Linked DNA regions of Homo sapiens: regions 1 and 2 are each linked to region 3. The links are contacts of gene promoters, found by promoter capture Hi-C in blood cells and fetal thymus (Javierre and others, 2016). All regions are on one chromosome and are shown on one strand. The core of a region is centred on a gene start or on the middle of the fragment in contact, and the rest is flanking DNA. Distances in the headings are between cores, read along the strand shown. Region 1 holds the start of CEP72 (centrosomal protein 72). Region 2 holds the start of SLC9A3-OT1 (SLC9A3 3' UTR overlapping transcript 1). Region 3 overlaps TRIP13 (thyroid hormone receptor interactor 13).

Region 1 (2,896 bases), core at 188-2,687, 290 kb before region 3:
ACACACCCCCACACATAGCTCCTGCACACACCTCCTGCACACACCTCCTGCACACACTGTTGCACACACCCCCACACATAGACCCTGCACACACCTCCTGCACACACTGTTGCACACACCCCTTGCACATACACCCTGTATATACCCCCTGCATACTCCTTATGTACAGCACTGCACATACTCCCTGCAGAGACCCTGTGTGCATCCTCTGCACACACCCCTTCTGTATACTGTCTGCACACACCCCCTACATGTACACCCTCTGCACACTCCTCCTGCATACACCCCATGTACACCTTCTGCACACACTCCCTGAACACATTCTGAGTACACCTCCTGCACACCCCGTGTACAACCTCTGCACACACCCCCTACACACTCCCCTACACACTCCCCTACACCATCCACACACACTCCCTGCACACAGCCCCTGCACACATTCCCCATGTACACCCTCTGTCTGTGTATACCCTCGTCTACTACCACCATACGTACCCCCCACCACTACCCTGCCTTGTCTATCACCCCCCAGGCTGTGACATACCAGGGATGTTGCCAACGAGCTGGTCTAATCTGGGGTGAGGGTTTCTGGGTGCCCCTAGACACCAGGAGAAAGGCGGGGAGGGGACACCCCTGGGGGTCTGGATTCACTCCACCAGGCGCTGGGCCACAGTGGTACGGTGACACAGTAGATGTCTTGAGCAGGATTAAAGTCTTCCCAATAAACAGGCTGAACTCTGTCTTCCTTGAAAGCTCTGTAGAAGGACCTCACAAGGATAAACACAGCGAGACCCTCCAGGGCGCGGTCAGCCACGAGCCACAGTGCTGGGCCTGTGACATCTCTGGAGGTTCTGGGGTGGAGAAGGACCGGCCGTGGGGAGTGACTGGCTGGGGAGAAGCTCAGCTCCCGCCCACCTCTGGGAGGCCCGGGGCTGGACGGGAGGTGCAGCAGACAAGGCTCCGGGCGGGTGCTGGGGTGTCTGGAGGGGTCCCCGCGGGGGGGTCGGGTTGGGTGGGGAGTCTAGGTGAGTCGGGGGTCCCCGGGGGCGCTGGGTTCAGGGTGGGAGCGGAGTGTGGATGGGGCAGGGTCCCCATGCCCACCACCAGCCGCGATTCCACCGCGCCTACTCGGGGTTTCCCCGGGAGGACACCGCGTGTGTCAAGGGCCGGGGCCTAGAAGGCGGCCGCGCCCAGGGAAGCCTTGACAGGGAGCTATCTGGGGCGGGGGCTGGGGTCGCGTGGCCAGTACCTGGGAGAACCGCCATTCAGGAGAACCCCCCGCCAGGCTCTTGGTTCCGCCCACGCAGTCCCGCCCCCTCCCCCAGCCACGCCCCTCGCCCCGCCGCGCAGGCCCCGCCCCGTCCCGCCAGGCTCTCGGTTCTGCCGACGCAGGTCCCGCCCCTCTCGTAGCCTCGCCCCGCCCGCCGCGCAGGCGCCGTCCGAGGGCTCCGTTTGAAACATGGCGCGGGCTGGCCCTCGGCTGGTGCTGAGCGAGGAGGCGGTTCGGGCGAAGAGCGGCTTAGGGCCTCACCGCGACCTGGGTGCGCCGGAGGGCGGGCGGGGGTGCAAGCGTGAGGTGGCGGGGGGGTGGGTGCCGAGCTTCCCGGGGCGGCGGCGGACCGTGGGCAGGCGGGACCCGTCTACGCAGGCGCCGCGGGCGTCCGGAACGGTCGCGGGCGAGCGGGGCGCGCGTGTCCAGGTGAGCGACCCACCCCCCGTGCCCAGGTGCGGCCCCTGCCCGCGTTCGGGTCCCGGCGTCCCGGCCCCTGCCTGTCTATCGGGTCACTGGTTCCGTGACTGGGGGTTACATCCGCTGAGAAGAGGGAGCCGGCCTTGCTGTCCAGGAGCGCAGCCCGCCCTCCCGCTGGGGATCACCTCCCTGGTTCTCCTGGGCCCACTCTGTGGTGATTGTTGCGCTCGGCCTTCTTGAGGATGTTGGTGGCCGGTTTCCTTCTTTTTGGCTTATTTTTGTCTGGTTTTGGCGTCAAGGTGAAGCCGAGCTCATAAACTGCTGAGAAGTGTTGCCTTCTCTTATATTTAGAAGAGGTTCTGTAGAGTGTGTGCTCATTGTTTGAATGTTTCCTGGAATTTTCCAGTGAAACCATATGGACATGTCAATTTCTGTTTTTGAAGCTTTTAAATGACAAATTCTGTATCTCTGGTTGTTAGAGAACCGTTCATATTAGTTCACCGCGAGTCTTGGCTGTGTGGGGTTTTGTGGCATTGGCTTATTTGAGCTAACTTGTGGAGTGTGTGTGTTGAGTTGTTTCTGGTGTTCTGTTGTTAGCCTGTTAATGTCTGTGTGTGGTCTGCAGGTGTTACTGGACCAACAGGTTCAGTCAGGTGCTGTGGGGGCCACAGGCCAATACACTGAGACAGTGGGGTTTGCAGCAGAGAAAGAGTTTAAGGCTGGCAGGGGCCCAGCAGGGAGGTGGAAGGAGGCCTCAATCCATCTCCCCAAGGAGATCTGAGCGGTTTTTTTTTTTTAGACGGAGTCTCACTCTGTCGTCCAGGTTGGAGTGCAGTGGCACAATCTCAGCTCACTGCAACCTCCACCTCCCAGGTTCAAGTGATTCACTCAGCCTCCTGAGTAGCTGGGATTACAAGCACGCGCCACCATGCCCGGCTAATTTTTTATATTTTTAGTAGAGACGGGGTTTCACCATGTTGGCCAGGCTGGTCTTGAACTCCTGATCTCAGGTGATCCACCTGCCTTGGCCTCCCAAAGTGCTGGGATTACAGGCATGAGCCACCTACACCCAGCCTGAGCTGGGGGTTTTAGAGGAACAGGACTGTGAGGAGCTGGAAGATTGGTGTTGTCAGTTGGTGGAGGTAAGGGCCATGGAATTATCAGGGTGTGGAAACTGCATTCTTTGGTGAATCCGCTTGCGGGGCC
Region 2 (3,245 bases), core at 611-3,110, 430 kb before region 3:
CAATTCTCGTCAACACAGAACACCTGCCTGCCCACCCCCGGTGCTGAAGACCGACCAGTCAAGGAGGTGTTGGTGGGAGTGTTGTGTTCACCATGTGGAGATCAGGCGGCGATTACCGCATCTTCTTTGCTGACTTTGGTAACCGGGTGTCCAGGGAGGAGCGATCGGGAGTGGCCAAGCAGTTGCCTGGACTCAGCTTCTGACTCTGCAGCTGGGAGTCAGATGCAGGCCCAAGGGTCCAGGGGAGTTGTTCAGCGCCTGGAATCGCCATGCATTGCGCGGTGGACCGCACGACGCTCCTGCTCTGTTCTCCCAGGCACAGACAGGCACTTGGAAGGCAGCTTTGCTCCTCTGGCCACCCGGAAACCTCCCAGCAGTTCAGATGGGACAAACTGGGGGCCTGTCAGAACAGCCACTTGTGCCGGGAAGGCCAGGCCCCGGCCTGCTCCGATGAACGTCAGGACGGTGGCTGCAGCAGGGAACCAGGGCTGGCCTTGGATCTGTCCAGTAGGGTCACTGACTGGGCAGGGCTTGCTGCATAGAGGATGGCTGCATTTTGTGCTCAGAGTTGGTTGAAATGGCTACGAAGTGTGGAGAATAACCACTGAATCCCAAAAAGTCACTGCGCTTGATCTGATCCAAGTAACAGTGACTGCAGTTAGGGTCGAGAGCTTCTCCGAAGCAGCGGTCATGCAGGCTTTTGTGTGGCTGACGCTTCCCTTTTTCACAACAGTAAAAAGCTATCAATGGGAAATTGTGGACTTTTCCCACCAGGGACTCAATGGGGACTCAATGTGCAATATTCAGTCAACATAAAACTCTTTAAGAACTCCTCCTGACTGGTGACTGTCAACACTTGATCTGAAACGTGAATAGTTTAATTTTCCTGAGCAAGGAGCTGCGAGTCTAGCTTTAGAAAAGCCCCTAGGAGTGTCCACCTCCACCACTTCCACCGTGCAGGCAGGTTTCAGGTGGGTTGGACCCTGTGGGACTTGCCGTCTGAGGGATGGATGGACTCCGAGCACCCTCCCCGGCTCAGCACCCGCGGCCTCCGCCCACTCAATGGACTGTGCCTCCCAGAGCTTGGGCTGGATGGTCTCCCTGCAGAGGACCAGGAGCTCTGTCCAAGGCCTCGCCCTGGGACGCTGGAAGGGGTGGGAAGGGTCAGGGGTCCGGGGTCTAGGACAGGCTCAGGGGTCTCAGCAGGTTCTCCTTGGAGGGCCTGAGCCTGGTAGGGGGGCGGTGCCCTGGGCCCCTCCATGCCCCCTGGTTTGTTAAGGGGGACAGAGCAGCTGCTGGGCCCCACCATCCACTTAAGGACTGGCCGTGATTCTTGGCAAGCTCCGCCCGCCAGGCCACCTCTCACCCAGCCAGGGCACCCCGGGCGACCTCCGCGCCAGGTGCGACAGCTCAGGCCGGAGACCTCGTCTGTGGGGACGGGCCGTGTCCGGGGCCGCCACCCTGAGACCGGGCGCGGGCAGGACGGAACCTGGGGGGGAAACGGGGCAGGTACTGGCTTTAGGAGTCTAAATCCCCAAACGCTGAGCAGACGGAAGACGTTCCTGCCACTTTACCTGCAGTTCAAAGACCTGGCGAGGGCCTGGAAACGGCGCTCGGCCCAGGCCGCTTGCGGGCGCTGGGCCTGCAGCCGCTGCAGGTCGGGCCCTGAGTCCTGGCGCTCGGGAGGTCCCTGAGTCGGTCCCCGAGTCAGTCCCCGGGCGCGGGGCTCGGTTGGGGGGGCCCGGAACCTTGGGCTGGTTTCACGCAAATCCGTTTGGGGCGAGCCTCGGTTTCCCGGCAGCGGTGGGAAAGGGCGCGAGCGGCCAGCCATGGCGCGCGGACCCTTCCCGCCGGCGGCGTCACAGCGGCGTCTCCTCCTGCTCCAGCGCGTGCGGCGGTGCGTGGCACGAGGGCGGCAGCGACGCCAGCTTCAGCAGCGCGGGGCGGCGGCGCGCGCGAGGCCGCTGGAACGAGCGCCGGCTGTGCACGCGGCGCGCCGCCGCCGAACGCGCGTGCGCACTCGGCAGCCCTCGGCGCTCCGGCCCCGCCCCCGGCGCAGGCCCCGCCCCCGGCTCGCCCTCGGGCGGCTCTGCGGGCGCAGGCGCGGCACTCTCGGAGTTCTGCGCAGGCGCTGGCGTGGGCGAGGCGGGGCTCGGGGCTCGCGGTCGCTGTAGCCGCGCGGGGATCTGGGGTTTCTCTGGGACAGCGGCGGCGGCGGTGGGCGGACCGTGGCGCGGGGACGAGCGGCCGGTTAGCGGCGTGTCGGAGCCGGTGTCACCTGCGGGAGAGGAAGGCGTGAGCGGCGCGCGGAGCCCGGGCGCTGGGGCGGGAGGGGCGTCCCCGGGGGCCTCAGCTGTCCCCGAGCCCGGCGGCTCTCGCCTCCCCTCCCGCGGCGCACCCCAGGCTCGGCGTCCGCTGGGGCCTCCTCCCAGGACCCGGGTTCGCGGGGCAGAGGCGGAAGCAGCAACAGCGAAGCCCCAGCCCGGCCCCGCCACGTCCCCCCGCCGGGGGTCCCGGGACAGCGGCCTCCTCGGCGCAGGAAGGTCCCGCCCCAGGCCCTGCAGCGCGGGAGGTCAAGGTCCCCAAGGGGACCTGCTTCCTCCATCTCAAACCGCCCTGGCGTCCCCCGGGTGCCTCCCAGGCCCCCAGAGGGAGCTCAGAAAGCCCAGACCCCACGGCCCGCCCCTCTCCCTGCTCTGAGCTGGAGGCAGAGTCCGGGTCTGCGGGGCCGGCCCTCCCTGTATCCCTGTGAGAGGGTCGGGGACCCGGGGCGTCTGTCTGGCTTCCCCCAGCCCTGCTCTCAGCTCCCTGGGAGCGCAGGATTTGGACTCGCGGACTAGCTTTCGGAGCCACCTAAAGGAAATCTCAGGCGGCCCTAGTGCCCTCAGCTCCGTGGGAGCAGCAGAGACGCCAGAGTATCTCTGTCCGGGCTCCTGAGGGAGGTGCGGCCAGCAGGGCGCTAGAGGAGGAAGAGGGGCTGCTGGAGAGAGAGAGCGCGCCAGGTTCAGGTCCAGGGAGGAGAGAGAGCGAGCGCGCGAGGCGGAGACCTGGAGGGAGAGGAGCTGCGGAGAGGGGTTAGGCGGGGAGGGAGAGAGAGAACCAGGTTCCGGTCCAGGGAGGAGAGAGACAGCGCGCGCGAGGCGGAGACCTGGAGGAGAGGAGCTGCGGAGAGGGGTTAGGCGGGGAGAGAGAGAGAGCGAGCCAGGTTCAGGTCCAGGGAGGAGAGAGACAGCGCGCGCGAGGCG
Region 3 (3,040 bases), core at 378-2,877:
CATGTAAGTTGCTGTGCCTTTTCCCAGAATGCCCTGTTATTTGAAGAGGAACCATTACTGTTTTGCTCTCCAACACCCCTGAGCAACTTGATGCAGATGGGTTTTTGGGAGCCCCTGTCTGCTGGCAGCCCTTGTCCTGGACATCTATCCTCTAGTATTGCTCCAGAGTAGAGCTGGTCTCTGAGGAGCTCCCTGAGGGAGAAGAGGGAAAGGGAGAACGTGAAGGCAACTTAGAGAATTAAACCCTCTGGAGATGGGAGGAGGGAAGGTGAGCAAGCCTGGTCCGCACAAAGGAAAGGCCGGTGTGTCTTAACCCCTGCACCCTCTTCAACGGGAAGGGTCTTTCCCATGCCAGCAGCTGGCTAGAAGACTATCACTCAGCTGTCCTCTGCATTGATAGTCTGAGACTATCACTCAGACTGCTCCTCTGCATTGTGGCTGTTGTTATTTTGCGAATAATAACTGCTGTATCATTCTAGGGAAGGAGCTTACTCATTACTTGATAAACAAACCCCTTAGTGGTTTTGTTTAATGTTGGCACTTTAAATAAAAGTGATCATTTTGTTGCTCTTCTTATATTTATAATAGTAATAGCCAGTGTTTTTCCTTTTCCCTTTTGGAAGCACCTTCTCTTCTGAAATGAAAGCGTTTGGAGGTGATGATCTCTTAGGAGGCGGCCTCGCTCCCTGTGCTCCCTCTTCTCATGTAGGATTAAGCCCTGGGGGAGGGCACATTTCTTGGGGACCTTTGCCTTGTTGGTATCTTTGTCAAGCTCTTTTCTTTTTCTCTATCAGCTCCTCGATTATGTGATGACAACTTTACTGTTTTCAGACAAGAACGTCAACAGCAACCTCATCACCTGGAACCGGGTGGTGCTGCTCCACGGTAAATTATGCAGGCTTTTATTTGACCAGATAAGTGGCATGAAATTTAGCCTTTACTTGTACCTTCGTCCTTCTGCAAGGAGTTACGGCTCTTTGTTTTCTGAAGGAGCCACAGCTGTCCTAGAATGTCCCCTCTCTGTGAAGCAGATCCAGCTCATGACACTTGGGACATTTTTTGTTTGTTTGTTTGTTTTTGTTTTTGAGACAGAGTCTCGCTGTCGACCAGGCTGGAGTGCAGTGGCCCGATCTCGGCTCACTGCAACCTCCACTTCCTGGGTTCCTCCCAGGTTCCAGCAACTCTCCTACCTCAGCCTCCCGAGTAGCTGGGATTACAGGCATGCGCCACCACACCCAGCTAAGTTTTGTATTTTTAGTAGAGACGGGGTTTCACCACGTTGACCAGGCTGGTCTCAAACTCCTGACCTCAGGTGATCCGCCCGCCTCAGCCTCCCAAAGTGCTGGGATTACAGGCTTGAGCCACCGCGCGCGGCCCCTGGGGCATTGATTACTCGGCACTTAATCAAGTCTTCCTGTGGGGGGCCACATTCCAAGACATCCTCAGATGCCCCAAACGTGGATAATACTAAACCTTATGTAGACTATTTTTTCCTACAGACATTCCTATGATAAAGCTTAACTTATAAATTAGGCTTGTAGTACTCAGAGCTTTACTTTGTGAGGAGTAAACTGAAAAAGCCATATTTTAAAGAAATTCTGTCTGGTTCTTCTCAGGAGAAAATACTGATGGTTTGTTGTTTGGTTTTGTTTTGTTTTGTTGTCAATATCACCGGGTAGAATGGGGACACGGGAATTGAGTGGACTCGAGAGTATGAAACTGTAGCCAAGTGTTAAATAGAAGCTTGAAGGGTACTTGGCTTCTTTAAGTCAGTTAAGATTGCGTGACAAAGTGACCTTAAAACACAATGTTCTTTTAAAGAGCAGACAGGCCCCGCATACTGCCCTCATAGCACAGTCAGAGTAAGCAGCAGGTGTTTTAATTAGTGAAATAAGTTGTTTCTGTTTGGAACCAGTTACGTATTTCCTCTTTAATTCTTGAAAATACCTGCAGAAAATTAGAGTTGTATGTCTCCATTTTCTGTTAGATGCTTTCCTTTTTCCATATTGGTCACCTCGCAGCTTCTGTGAGGCATCTTTTGTAGGGTCCAGCCCCACAGGGTTGGTGAGTTTTCTCCCCATGTGCAAAGACGAGAGAGTGTAGAAATAAAGACACAAGACAAAGAGATAAAAGACAGCTGGGCCTGGGGGACCACTACCACCAAGACGCGGAGACCGGTAGTGGCCCCGAATGCCAGGCTGCGCTGATATATATTGGATACAAGACAAAGGGGCAGGGTAAGGAGTGTGAGCCATCTCCACTGATAGGTAAGGTCACGTGGGTCACGTGTCCACTGGACAGGGGACCCTTCCCTGCCTGGCAGCTGAGGCAGAGAGAGAGAAGAGAAACAGAGAGACGGCTTACACCATTATTTCTGCATATCAGAGACTTTTAGTACTTTCACTAATTTGCTACTGCTAGCTAAAAGGCAGAGCCAGGTGTACAGGATGGAACATGAAGGCGGACTAGGAGCATGACCACTGAAGCACAGCATCACAGGGAGACAGGCCTCTGGATGACTGCGGGCGGGTCTGACTAATGTCAGGCCCTCCACAAGAGGTGGAGGGGTAGAGTCTTCTCTAAACTCCCCGGGGGAAAGGGAGACTCCCTTTCCCGGTCTGCTAAGTAGCAGGTGTTTTTCCTTGACACTGACGCTACCATTAGACCACGGTCAGCTTGGCAGCGGGCTTCTTCCCAGACGCTGGCATTACTGCTAGACCAAGGAGCCCTCTGGTGGCCCTGTCCAGGCATAACAGAAGGCTCGCACTCTTGTCTTCTAGTCACTTCTCACTATGTCCCCTCAGCTCCTATCTCTGTATGGCCTGGTTTTTCCTAGGTTATGATTGTAGAGCAAGGATTATTATAATATTGGAATAAAGAGTAATTGCTACAAATTAATGATTAATATTCATATATAATCATATCTAAGATCTATATCTAGTATAATTATTCTTATTTTATTTATTTTATTATACTGGAACAGCTCGTGCCCTCGGTCTCTTGCCTCGGCACCTGGGTGGCTTGCCGCCCACATCATGCT

What was found. The method cuts DNA at HindIII sites, captures the fragments that hold promoters and counts their contacts. A CHiCAGO score of 5 or more calls a contact.
Region 1: a contact is called between the fragment with the promoter of CEP72 here and a fragment that was not itself captured in region 3, in 15 of 17 cell types (megakaryocytes, total B cells, naive CD4 T cells and 12 more). The highest score is 10.7, in megakaryocytes.
Region 2: the fragment with the promoter of SLC9A3-OT1 here is called in contact with a fragment that was not itself captured in region 3 in 2 of 17 cell types (M2 macrophages and endothelial precursors); the score reaches 7.7 in M2 macrophages.

Annotation. Positions count from the first base shown.
Region 1 is chr5:610,903-613,798 of GRCh38, forward strand. It overlaps CEP72 (centrosomal protein 72), which reads left to right and starts at 1,438. Exons shown (of 12, transcript NM_018140.4): 1 at 1,438-1,541. The coding sequence starts at 1,460. It overlaps CEP72-DT (CEP72 divergent transcript), which reads right to left and starts at 1,308. Exons shown (of 3, transcript NR_103444.1): 1 at 1,250-1,308; 2 at 545-851. RefSeq lists enhancers at 361-1,291, 1,292-2,221. The HindIII fragment of the contact is 7,839 bases long and covers 1-2,131 here.
Region 2 is chr5:471,105-474,349 of GRCh38, forward strand. It overlaps SLC9A3-OT1 (SLC9A3 3' UTR overlapping transcript 1), which reads right to left and starts at 1,861. Exons shown (of 2, transcript NR_024158.1): 1 at 1,575-1,861; 2 at 1-861. It overlaps SLC9A3 (solute carrier family 9 member A3), which reads right to left. Exons shown (of 17, transcript NM_004174.4): 17 at 1-2,278. The coding sequence ends at 2,275. SLC9A3-AS1 (SLC9A3 antisense RNA 1) reads left to right here and starts at 2,132. Exons shown (of 7, transcript NR_125375.1): 1 at 2,132-2,295. RefSeq lists enhancers at 813-1,455, 1,456-2,096 and silencers at 1,340-1,469, 1,830-1,899, 2,020-2,839. The HindIII fragment of the contact is 27,849 bases long and covers 1-3,245 here.
Region 3 is chr5:900,547-903,586 of GRCh38, forward strand. TRIP13 (thyroid hormone receptor interactor 13) reads left to right here. Exons shown (of 13, transcript NM_004237.4): 4 at 1-3; 5 at 795-885. Among named protein-coding and RNA genes, the nearest start is that of TRIP13, 9.2 kb to the left of the region's middle. RefSeq lists a silencer at 2,548-2,842. The HindIII fragment of the contact is 227 bases long and covers 1,515-1,741 here.